Linked DNA regions of Homo sapiens: region 2 is linked to region 1. Evidence: promoter capture Hi-C in 16 types of primary human blood cells and fetal thymus (Javierre and others, 2016). All regions are on one chromosome and are shown on one strand. The core of a region is centred on a gene start or on the middle of the fragment in contact, and the rest is flanking DNA. Distances in the headings are between cores, read along the strand shown. Region 1 holds the start of TMEM168 (transmembrane protein 168). Region 2 overlaps SAMTOR (S-adenosylmethionine sensor upstream of mTORC1).

The links. Contacts are between HindIII fragments. The CHiCAGO score rates a contact against its expected background, and 5 or more counts as called.
Region 2: a fragment that was not itself captured here is called in contact with the fragment with the promoter of TMEM168 in region 1 in 2 of 17 cell types (naive CD4 T cells and monocytes); the score reaches 5.9 in naive CD4 T cells.

The regions. Positions count from the first base shown.
Region 1 is chr7:112,787,962-112,793,885 of GRCh38, reverse strand. It overlaps TMEM168 (transmembrane protein 168), which reads left to right and starts at 3,493. Exons shown (of 5, transcript NM_022484.6): 1 at 3,493-3,726. RefSeq lists an enhancer at 3,105-3,234. The HindIII fragment of the contact is 5,754 bases long and covers 2,372-5,924 here.
Region 2 is chr7:112,924,634-112,930,557 of GRCh38, reverse strand. The region is part of intron 1 of SAMTOR (S-adenosylmethionine sensor upstream of mTORC1); the gene reads left to right. Among named protein-coding and RNA genes, the nearest start is that of SAMTOR, 12 kb to the left of the region's middle. The HindIII fragment of the contact is 1,793 bases long and covers 1,761-3,553 here.

The sequences.
Region 1 (5,924 bases), core at 2,244-4,743:
GAACAACGTAGTATCTCTGGACCTTGGTTACATTATTTGCAAAATGGTGATGAAAATATTTACATCATTGGGTTTTTGTGTAGATTATGTAATATAGGTGAAAGTACTTTATATTACACAGAATAAGGGAGGCCCAGCTGATTTTCTATGGAGAATCTGAGTTAGTTTAGCCCTACGACTGAACTGAATAAATGGAAAAAATAGGAGAAAAACAATAGAGAACATAAGAAATAACATAGGACTCATCTGTGACTCCCTGCCAGAGGACTGGAATGTGTGATAAGATCCACCGTACCTCCTGTGATGCGTGCTGCTCCCTCTTCCTTTTCTTGACTTATTATCATGAGTATATTTTCAACAGGTGTTCCTAGTCTGAAATAACTCCTCAGGTGATATTCCTGGCCTGAAGCACACAGACCTTGTCTGTATAGAAGTAGGTGTTAAAGAATGGATATTCTAGTGATTAGGATCATTATACTGCCATCATTAACCAGAACCTGAAATCACCAGTCTCTGCAATGGTTCCCAGGTGGCTGTTTTATATTTAGGTGTCTGGCTGCGGATGTACCAGATGTCGCAAATTGACCCTTTCTTCTTTCAGGATAAAGGGGGATTTAGATTGGGTCCTTGAGGGCCTCAGGTGCCAGACTGAATTTGGACTTTATTCTGTAGCCTGTATAAATCACTGGTTTTAATCCCAGAAGTGTCAAAGCATGGTGCTCTGAGAGCATCAGCCAGGGGCCTGTGTAATGGGTTAGACTGAGCTGAGGCTGAAATCAAGATGACCAGCATAGAGGTTACTGAAGTAATACCGTAACAGAGTAGAAGCAATAGAAGTTGATGGGAAATAATAAATGCAAGAGATAGGGTGGATGAAAATGAACAGCACTTGGTCATTCATAAGTGTCAAATTTTTTTTGGTAAATACTGGTATCCTTCAATAACTAAAGATTGACAAGGCTATCTTTCTCCTCCCTCGGTACTAGGTAGTGTCATACAGTTAAAACAAGTCTCAGACTGAATGCTACTACACAAATCTTATCAGCAAGCAGACACAAAAAACAGTACACAAACAGTACTTTGTGGCAAAATATTAAACAGAAGTCTAGACTAAGCCATTCTGAAGGCTGTCGGTCTGCTACACAGCAGATTTCTACGCCACAGTTATGCATAAGTGCTTGTACAGTATTCTAACCAGCCACGTATTTTGAACATCTTGTTTCCACAATGAAGAATTCTTTCTAATCCTTTATGCTAACTAAGGTACATCTAGTGCAGATTTACATGGTGATACTGGAAGCATCTGTGCATTCAACTCTGCAGTGAACATTTTTGATTAGTCTTTCAAATGCTAATTACCCACCCTGGGCTGTGCAGATTAACTTTCAAACATACACACATCTCACTGAAGTATTCTAAAGTATAAGGACAAGATAACAAGCATCAAAAATGGTTTTAAAGTCATAAGGCAGAAGACCATGTTAGAGGAAGATGATGAAAAACCACTGATTTAGTGAGCTGGTCTTAGTGCTAAGCAACTGAATGCAGCTGTAGCTAATTTAAGCAGAAAGTAAGTTTACTAGAGGACGCTAAGTAGTTCAAAGGATAGCTGGAGATTGAGGCTTGCACCTACATGGCCAGAATCTACCTTGGCTGTTACCGGTGGAAGGTGTCCAGGTTCTTGGCATCTTGAACAAGGAATTAGACAAAACGCACAAACAAAGCAAGGAAGGAATGAAGCAACAAAAGCAGAGATTTATTGAAAATGAAAGTACACTCCACAGGGTGTGAAGAGCCGGAACATGGGGCTCAAGAGCGGGGCGGCCGGGTTATAGAATTTTCTGGGGTATAAACACCCTCTAGAGGTTTCCCATTGGCCACTTGGTGTACACCCCACGCAAATATAGTGGCCCACAATCAGTCTGATAGCGGAAAGCAACCAATCAGAGCCTGAAGCGAAGTTACAAAGGTTACACCCTATGCAAACATTTAATTAGTTATGGAAAGCAACCAATCCGAGGTACTTTCAATTTTCCGTCTGCCACGCAGAAAAGGGCGGTGGTGGGGGAGGGGGCCGGGTCCCTTTGTTACTTAGCTGTGGAAAGTTGGGGCTTTCCTTTTGATTTAGTTCTAGAAAGTCAGCATGAATCAGCCGTAAGTTCCTTGCCTCCAGACCCTATTGTCCTGCCTCACAGCTATGTAGTACAGAGTCTGTCACAGGCTACCCAGAAATGTACACAGAGACTGTTAACAGGCTACAGAACAGATTGGGAAAGGGCTCTGGGGTTGTGACCCTCACCAAGCACAGGCATCTTGCATCTCTGACATGTTAATGGTGGATGCCAGCACTCTCACTACTGCCTCGGAAGCTTACCTTGCTGTTAGGGATGGGTTCTCGATCTCTACACTTGCTATACTCCTACAGGTGACCTGGGAGTGTAGCTTTCTGTGCCTTTTTTGACTCATGGCTTCCAGCGGGTACACATGATTAGTTAAACAAGTGTTCAGCATTTCAGCGGCAGCCATTAGACTCTTAACTCAGGTGGGGAATTCTCCAAATACGGAAGGGGATTCAAATGGGGGGCATAATAAATGTATATAAATGTCCATTAAAGGCAAGTTGAGTTGGAAGTGATGACAATATATTTGAGTAGAAACATCTAGCAGGTAGTTGGAAATGTGGCACTCGTGTTCCCCAGAGAGCTAGTTACAGATTTGGGAAGTTGAGTTGTGATTGCTTTTAAAATCAGGAGTCTAGAGAGAATCTAACTCAAAATTTTCATCCACATATGCAGAATCTCAATCTGAGAGTTGTTCATTCCTATAGATGTGCTGGCCACACCAACCCCCAACATCTATTATGAAAATTAGGAAATTCACACTCTATTATGGAAAATAGGAAAAATATATAGATAATACATGCAAAACAAGTGGGAGGAGAGAACTACGGATCGTGGAGAGCCTATTGCATATTATTATTTTACAAATATTTAAGTGCCAACTATGTGTCAGGCACTATGCTAAGGTGATTTAATGTTGAGCAAAACCCGACATGTCCCTGCATTTGAGGAACTGAAAGGTCTGAGGGAGGGCCTAAGGAGCTTGGGCCTTAGCTGGTTACAAAGCCATATATTATGCCATATATATTAATGAGCAGCAACGCCTCCCGCAGTATTTACAGCCCACGCGTGGCAGTCCTGTCCACCCTGTCCCCGTTCGGTCCAGCCCGAGGCGGTGGCCTAGATGCTTGATGGGCACTGTCAGCCTGATCTTTGGTGGTCTTCCCGCTGTCTGTTCTCAGCTGCTGATTCCAGGTCCCAGGAGTCGACTTTGGCTTGAGGAAGGCAGGCGCCTTAGGTGGGGCAGTTGACACTCGCGCAGCGCCTTGCTCACCTGAGTGTGTGGCGGCGCGCGGGTTTGGGCGGGGAGGGGGCCGGGCCTCGGGAAGGAGGCGCGCCGCGCAGTTTGACCCCGGCGGCGTTCCGTACCGTCGCGGATTTCGGCGGCGGAAACATGGCGGTCGCGGCCGGGCCGGTAACGGAGAAAGTTTACGCCGACACTGGCCTGTATTAGCGCGTATGGCCTCGGGCCCTCGTTCCCCAAGGCGTGCCGCCTCCCTGTTCTCAGTCGCAGGCTGAAGCCTTGTCTGCTCTCCTCCTTTTTGGTTTGGTTTTGGAACTGACTCCGAGGGTTGGGAGAGCGCGTTGGTGGCGACGGCCGAGTCAGGTAGGGAGAAATGGGTGGACGGCAGGGCGGCGAGATCTAGGCATAGACACTGCCAGGGCTCCGCGTGGTCCGGACCCCAAGCTCCGCCCAGTCGGCCTCCCAGGGCCGGGGTAGGATACCTGCCTCTGGAGGAGTTGACAGTGGTGGTTGGAGATTGGAGGGTGTGGGAGCGCCTCTCCGTATTTCGCAAGGGTTCCCCCTCAACTGGGCGCCACGTTGTGGTCGCGTTCTCCGAGGCAGAGGATGGTGGAGAACAGCCAAGCTCCTTGTCGGACCTCCCACATCTCGCTAGAAGGAGGCCGAAAGGGAGAGAAATTGCTGTTGCTGCTCTAGTGCTGAGGAGTTTGATATTCTAGATGACATTTTCCTCGTATGAGATGGCTCAAAGAGTTATCAGTAATTCAGAACTGAAGCACTGAAATTCCCTGTTTTTTCAGTGTAGTTCTTTCAGCCTTGACACTTCTAGATGGGACAGAGTTTCTGAGTGAAAGATAATGCAAGTGATACGGTATGCCTCAAGCCATTCCCTAGAGGTAGGACATGGAGAGAGAATTGGTTTGGAAGAATTTGGGTGAATTAAGTAAAGACTGGTGGAAAGCTGAAATAGAAACCAAACATTCATGGACTCTCCCTTAGTTCTACTAGTTATTAGTTGTGGGATATAGCTAAGTTCTGTATTCTCTTTAGGCATTAGTAAGTGTCCAATGGTGACTATTGTTGTTAAATGTAGTTATTTCTTTATTAGTCTTTATTTTTCAACAAGTATTTATTGAATACCTTCTTGATGCCGGATTTTTGCTAGTCACTGGGTGTACAGTATTGAAGACAAACCCTCAGAGACCTTTTGATCTAGTGGGAAATGCAGACATGAAATAAGTGATGGTATGTAACAGAGAAAGTATGGGGGTCATGTAATGGGGAGGGGGCAGGGATAATCTCTTAAGAAAATGATTTATCTGAGACCTGAAGAGTTGGAATAAGCCAGGTGTGAGCACTGGGGTGGGGCCAGGAGGAGGAAAAGGAGTGTACCTGGCAAGGGAATAGCATTTGTGCAGTTTGTAATTGAAAGGTCAGTAAGGTTGGAAAATAAAGTGTGAGAGGAAAACTGGTAACAGATAAGGCAGGAGAGTTATTCAGGCCCAACACGGAGTGCCTTATAAGGCACTGTAAGGAGTTTTGACTTTATTGCTAAGGGTGATGGGACGCCATTGGAGCATTTTACATAGTGGAGTGCTAAATTTTGGTTTTAAAAAGTACACTTCTTAGAGAGGGCAAGAGTGGATACAGGGAAATGTTCAACATGATGGTGGCCAAAATTGGGATGGTGACCCTGGGGACGAGAAGTAGAAACATTTAAAAAATGTTTAGGAAGAATAGTAGACAGGACTTGGTGAGGATTAAATGTAGATGATGGTGGAGAGGAGGGTTAGAATAGTATGTAAGGTTTTATGAAATAATCAGACTCTGGCAGTGATTGGTTAGCTTTTCCCATATGCATATTGACTCCTCTATGGTCCATTTTCATCTACCTCTGGAATAATTGTCCATTGAATCATTAGTGACGGCAAACCGATTGAAAAGGAATGTAATGTTTTTCTGTTATTCTCTAACTCAGGCTGTCTTTTGAAGAAGATCAGAATGGGGAAGAGTTTTGTAAATTAGCCATTTAAAAACAATCTGCCATGTTGATTTTGGTCCATAGGAAGGTAACTGCATATATTGCATTATATGGATGCACTGTACTTCACTAATTTTTTTTTTACATGTTTACATTTACTTTGTTTCCAGGTATTTACCTCTGTTAACAGTGCAGAACAGAGCTGGTGCTTCATTTTCTATAGGTAGATTAATATATGTGTGCACTTAAGTAGAGAGATAATAATCAAAGACATAGAAATAAATGACATTGCTTAGAGAAAGTATATAGTGAGAGAAAAGCCTAGGTTTGGGGTTGAACATCCAAAGGATGGGTTGAGAATGAAGAACCTTCAAGGAGACCGAGGAGGGGAAACCAATAAATTAAGAAAAAAAATCTGGGGAGTTAGTCTTTGGATGCCTGCAAAAAGGAATGGTTTGGAAGGTGAGAGAAGTCAACAATGTAAATTTGTTTAAAGAATATGCAGGATATGGCCGGGTGCAGTGGCTCACACCTGTAATCCCAGCACTTTGGGAGGCCAAGGCGGACGGATCACCTGAGG
Region 2 (5,924 bases), core at 1,408-3,907, 140 kb before region 1:
CTTTTTCTTTTTCTTCTTTTTTTTTTTTTTGCCCCTTTTGCTGTTTGTGTTTCTAAGTTTTTATATGAAAAGTCCAACCTTTTTAGCATGTCAGAATATTGGTGGTGTTTTCTTCCCACATTAGAGAAATGACTATTCATAACATGTTGGCTATAAGATGCAGGTTTTCAAACTTTTTGTTTTCTGGTTACTTTTTGGCTCTTAATTACCAAACACCTTGGATGTTTTTTATCCCACTTTTAGATGTGTCACTGTATCAGGTGCTCAAGAGCTGAGAAGACTGGTCGTTGTATGGCTTAACTATGTAAGACAATCTGAATTCTGAACATTTTGTTTTAATGCCTTGAAATGGTAGCTGAACTTGTTTGCACTTAGTCATGAGTTTCTTTACTTACCTTGTGTTAGAGAAAATGACCATTAAAGGTACTTTGAACTTGAATTTGGTAGTCTTGTCATCTACAGATAAGGCATCTTAGGGCCCGTATTTGGCAATATGCCTAAGTCAGAATCAAATAAATTGTTCTGAATTTCTAAAAGTTTAAGACTTTTGATACTCATGTATTTTTTTGCTTTTTTAGAGAATTTGATGGCCCTCAAATTTAATGAAATATAATCTTAATTTTGTAACATATACCATGCTTGTGGCACATCATTTTTAAAAATTAAATTTATTGAGATATGATTCATGTACAGTAAATTGTGTCTTTTTAAAGTATATAATTCCGTAAGTTTTGACAATGCATGCATCTCTGTAAAACCATTACCACAATAAGGCGTAGAACATTTTCATCACTGCCAAAATTTTCTCATACTTCTTTGCAGTCGGTCTCTCTCTATACTCTCAGTCTCACATGTCTTTTCACTATAGATTCACCTCCATTTATTTTCGTTTCTTAGCTATTGTGAGTAATGCTGCAATGATTATAGGATTGCAGATATCTCTTTGACATACTGATTTCATTTCCTTTGGATAAATACCCATAGTGGGATTGCTGAATCATGTAGTAGTTTTATTTTTAATTTTTTTAGGAACCTCCATACTGTTTTGGCTGTACTAATTTACATACCCAACATAAGTATACAGGATTCACTTTTCTTCACATCCTCACCAATGCTTGTTATCTCTGGTCTTTTTGATAATAGCCATCCTAACAGATGGGAGGTAGTATCTTATTGTGGTTTTAATTTGCATTTTCCTGATGATTAGTTTTGTTGAGCACCCTTCTATATACCCATTGGCCATTTTTTGTGTTGTCTTTGGAAAAATATCTATTCAGGTCATTGCCCATTTTTTAGTCAGATTATTTGTTTTTTTGCTATTCAGTTTGAGGTTTTTTTTATATATCTTTTGGATATTAACCCCTTATCAGGTATATGGTTTGTAAATATATTTTTATCTTAAAATGGCATCACATATATACTTGCTAACTTATTTTCTGTGCTTTGTATGTTTTAAAAAGGAGAATTAGGATAGAGTTATTGAGAAAAAATATTATTTTTATACACATCAAGTATATAAAAATCAAGTGGTCCTGGCATGTAAAAATGCATGAACCTTAGCACCACCTATTCATTTTTTTCACATATAAGTAATTCTTTATCTATTTGGTGGTGTTACTGTTCATTTCTCCTTGAGCTAATAAATTTTTCGAAAAGATCTGTGTACTGCTATTAAAGAACTTAATGGATATGACTGGACTGTCAGCTGCAAGGTTTTCTTTTGACAATAACACAAAATGAAAAAGCCTTTTTAATAAGCTTAAAACAATGGTCTCTAGAAAAATGACATTGAAATTATTGCTTTTCTGACCTTGGAACTCTTACTTTGAAAACAGTAACTATTGTGAAAAATTTAAATTCTGCTTTTGAGTGACTGCTATTTATTGAAAGCCATCCTCTGTAGTTTGAATTTTATCTTAGCAACTAATTTAATTTGTTTATACTTTTCATGTTTATTTTTTGAGCATGATGAAAATTTAAATATTTTGTCCTCCACTGACTGAGCACCCTAATTAACTTCTCTAATTTATACAAATTGTAAATCAAAAGTAGTCTTTGCTTTTCCATTTATACTTTCTATTGGGAAAATCACACCTGGTTTTAATAGACAGTATGTATAAATGAATGACAAAGTACCGTAAGGATGGCAGATGAGGGAAGTGTAAGATGATAAAGTGGGAGGCAGATAAACCCTCTTGAAGAAAATATGAATTCAGTTACATTTTGAAGGAAAAAAAATGCTGTACCAGATGGCAGGAGAGAGGTTAATTCATAAAGAAAGAATAATATCAACTCTAAATAAATAATTTAGGGATTCCATTGGTTCACTTTAATTTGGAACTGTTTTAGAGCTGCGCTTCTGGATGTTATGTAGAGCAAAAATACTTTTAAACCCATTTCCTTGTACTTGTTTTTTTACAAAGGCAGTTGCATTGTAATAATGTCTTAATCACAAAGTTATTAAAAATGGAACTCTTTTTAAATTAATGAATGTGCTATTCTTTCCTAGTTGTCATTGTCCTTTTATTAGTAGCTCCTAATTTATTTTTTAGTTGTGACATAGTGTTTTTGAAGGTGAGTTTAGTCAATGCAATAGTTATGGTATTATCTTGATATAAGATTCAAAATAATTTGGTTCATTGATTATCATATTGAACTTGGTTTGGCAACTTTAAGTTGGCATCACTCATGTTTAAAATTACGAATTTGTTTTTTAAAATGGGTGTTTGAAAAATTTAAATGTTATGGGATAACTAAATAGAAGTCATGTTAATGTGAACTTTGTTCTAGAATTTTGTAAGACAATTTAAGCTGTAGAGCATATATTTTTGAATTGTGCTTTCTAAAAATAATTTGTGAATTCTCTGTAGTTGGTCAAAGTAAAACGTGTGTACCCATTGCAGATTTTGTTCTCCACGCCTCCCTTTCCCCTTGTACCTGTCTCTTTCTCTCTCTCTTTCTCTCTGTCTCACTTTTACTTTAAGACACATGTATTTTTTCTAGAATGCCTATAAGAAATTGGTAAGAAAATGGGTTATTAATTACAACACTTTTGAGTCATTCACAGATGCCATTATATTAAAATAAATCATAAGGCTAATTATTAATTCATTGAGAGTTCTGATAGAACTTGAAGACCTAAATGTTTCTTATACTGTGTTGACTAGACCTTTCATGCAAACTTCAAGAAGTTCTAGCTCCTGATTTACCTTTTAATAATGAAAAAATGTTGTCCTTTTAAATAGTATATCTTTTAATTATTAGTTGACCTAATAACTAAGTGATAAAAAAATCCTTAAAATTGAGTTTTAATATATTGTTTGTATATGCAGTTTGAGTTGGTAGAGGAGTTTTAAATATTATACTGGGCACTGGTGAACCCTAACTTTTTTTGGATTTTAGAACCTGAATCATAGATTACTTTGAAAAACTTTGCTCAAAATTTAAATACCATTATTTTAAATACTATAAAAACAAAAAATGGGCTATTATGAAAATACTTTTTCTCATTCCTTTTTAATAATTTCATTTATTTTTAAAATTACCTTAAGCTTTCAGAGGTATTTTGGGAAGTGGAATTTTCTCATAACTAAAGGCCAGCTATGTTTTTTGTTCAATTTTATAACCACCAGACTTTTAACAAAATGTATACACAGTAGTCAGAGTTTGAAACATTTTTATTTTATAAATATATGAAATAAAAGTTTTGGGTCCAGGATGCCTTGCATAGGATATAGGGAACCCGTCAGGTTCATATCTCTTTTATAGCATTTCCACATTTTACATGTCTTCTCCCCTTTTTTTGATACCAATGCCTGCTCATTAACTTTATTTTCTGTAGCATTTAATATGGAGTATTTTTAAAAGAAAATCTGTTGAAAGAAGGAAAAATATATACAGGTGCATCTTCTACTGTCAGTTATATATTTAAGTATACTTCACTTTATGAATCACATCAATTTTCAGTGTCAACACACTTTGTGAGAGTCTGCAGACTCCTCAATGTTAATGAAATCGTTAAATTGAAGTTGTTTGGTTAATCTGAGTTGCATTAGCCTACAAAGTTTGAATTCTTCCTTAGGACTTCAGTGAGGTAGATAGCCATAAAATTTCATTAGGTGGTATTTCAGAGAATTTTGTTGAGTATGAAAAACTAGAGGTCTTCTAAAAAGTTGTAGGGTAGTAGGTTTCTGTGTATTTTCAGTTCTTTGCATCTTATAGCTAGTAGAATAATTATAGAGTAAATTGAGTTTCAAAGTATATAGTGACATGGCAAGGACTCTAAGAATTTCTAACAGATGCCTGTGTTGCCTCACATAGCACACCCTTTGTCCTCACCCATGGTAGATAGACACTTTGAGCTCAGATTCACTAGCCCTTACATAGACCCACTTTAAATGAGTGCTGCTTTTTTGTGTTCTGCCTTTCTCCCACACTGCTGGAGCCCACTGAGATTGTCCCCTTATTCAGTGGCTAAGTGCAGACTAGCAGTGCAGATTGTTAATAATTCTCAGTTAATGGGGATAAGAACTTAGAGATAAATGCCGTGGCCTCCCATTCTTTAGGTGCACAATTCTGGACACATTCGGTATGCTTTTCAGTTTGCCAACAGCAGCAACCTCAGTAAAGCAACCTTGTATTAGTTTTTTCTCCTTCCCATCTTTCTCTCTACTTCCTTACTCCTGTTTCCTAGGATTCTCACCCAATTAAACTACATGGACCCAGGTCTTTGTCTTAAGTTGTACTTTTTTTTTTTTTTTTTTGAGACAGAGCTTGGCTCTTGTCACCCAGGTTGGAGTGCAATGGCATGATCTCAGCTCACTGCAACCTCCACCTCCCAGGTTCAAGCGATTCTCCTGCCTCAGCCTCCCGAATAGTTGGGATTACAGGCATGCGCCACCACACCTGGCTAATTTTGTATTTTGTAGTAGACGCAGGGTTTTACCATGTTTGTCAGGATGGTCTCAAACTCCTGACCTCAGGTAATCTGCCGGCCTTGGCCTCCCAAAGTGCTGGGATTACAGGCAAGAGCTACCACACCCAACCAAGTTGTACATTCTTTAGACGCTAAGTCTTGCAGAAAGGAAAAGAAAATATGTTTGTTTTAAGCATAGCTTTTCCCAGGTATATGTTATCATAGAACTTTTGTTTGAATGACTCCTATTAACAGCACATATAATACATTTATGTATTTACTTATAATGTATAGATTCTATAGGGCAGTGAAACTTAAAAGTTCAAAAAAAGGCCTTCTAGACTTGATGATTCACCTTTAAAATTATACAATACCTTAATGAATGATTTAGTTTCAAATTTGATGGATAAAGTCAGAAATAGTGTTATGTACCATCATGGGTTTATGAAAGTGTCATTAATTAAAGTATTGTTTCAAACGCCTCACTTTCTGAAGTTCTATTTAGAGACTTGATAAATAACTACATCTGAAAGATGTTGCTAAAACTGAGGAAAGCAGTAGTGTGTTTAAATTAATATTCCAATACAGCAGGCAGGCCCTCAAACTGTATGTCTTAAATGAACTTCGGTATGTGGTATTCTCACAGGAGCATTTGTGTATACCTTCAACTTGAACATTGAATCTGCCTCAAACTTCACCCTTTTTTCTTTTTCCTTGGACTTGTGTTTTATGAATAGTTATTTTATCACAGAAGGTCATTTTCAAATGAAACTGCTGGAAAAAAACATTAATAGGAATTCAAGTCAAACTGCTAAAAAAAAAAGAACATTGGCCATTATATTAAAATAAATCATAATTTATTATGATTTAACATGATTGAACTCGAATACCTTAACATTTCTAAAACTGAGGAATTTTTATTTGAGAATCTAGAAAACTTTTCCCTGCTTTTTTTAAGTTAATAGTTATTGCCAGTCTGATATGTAACAAATTGAGAGGCCAGTCACTA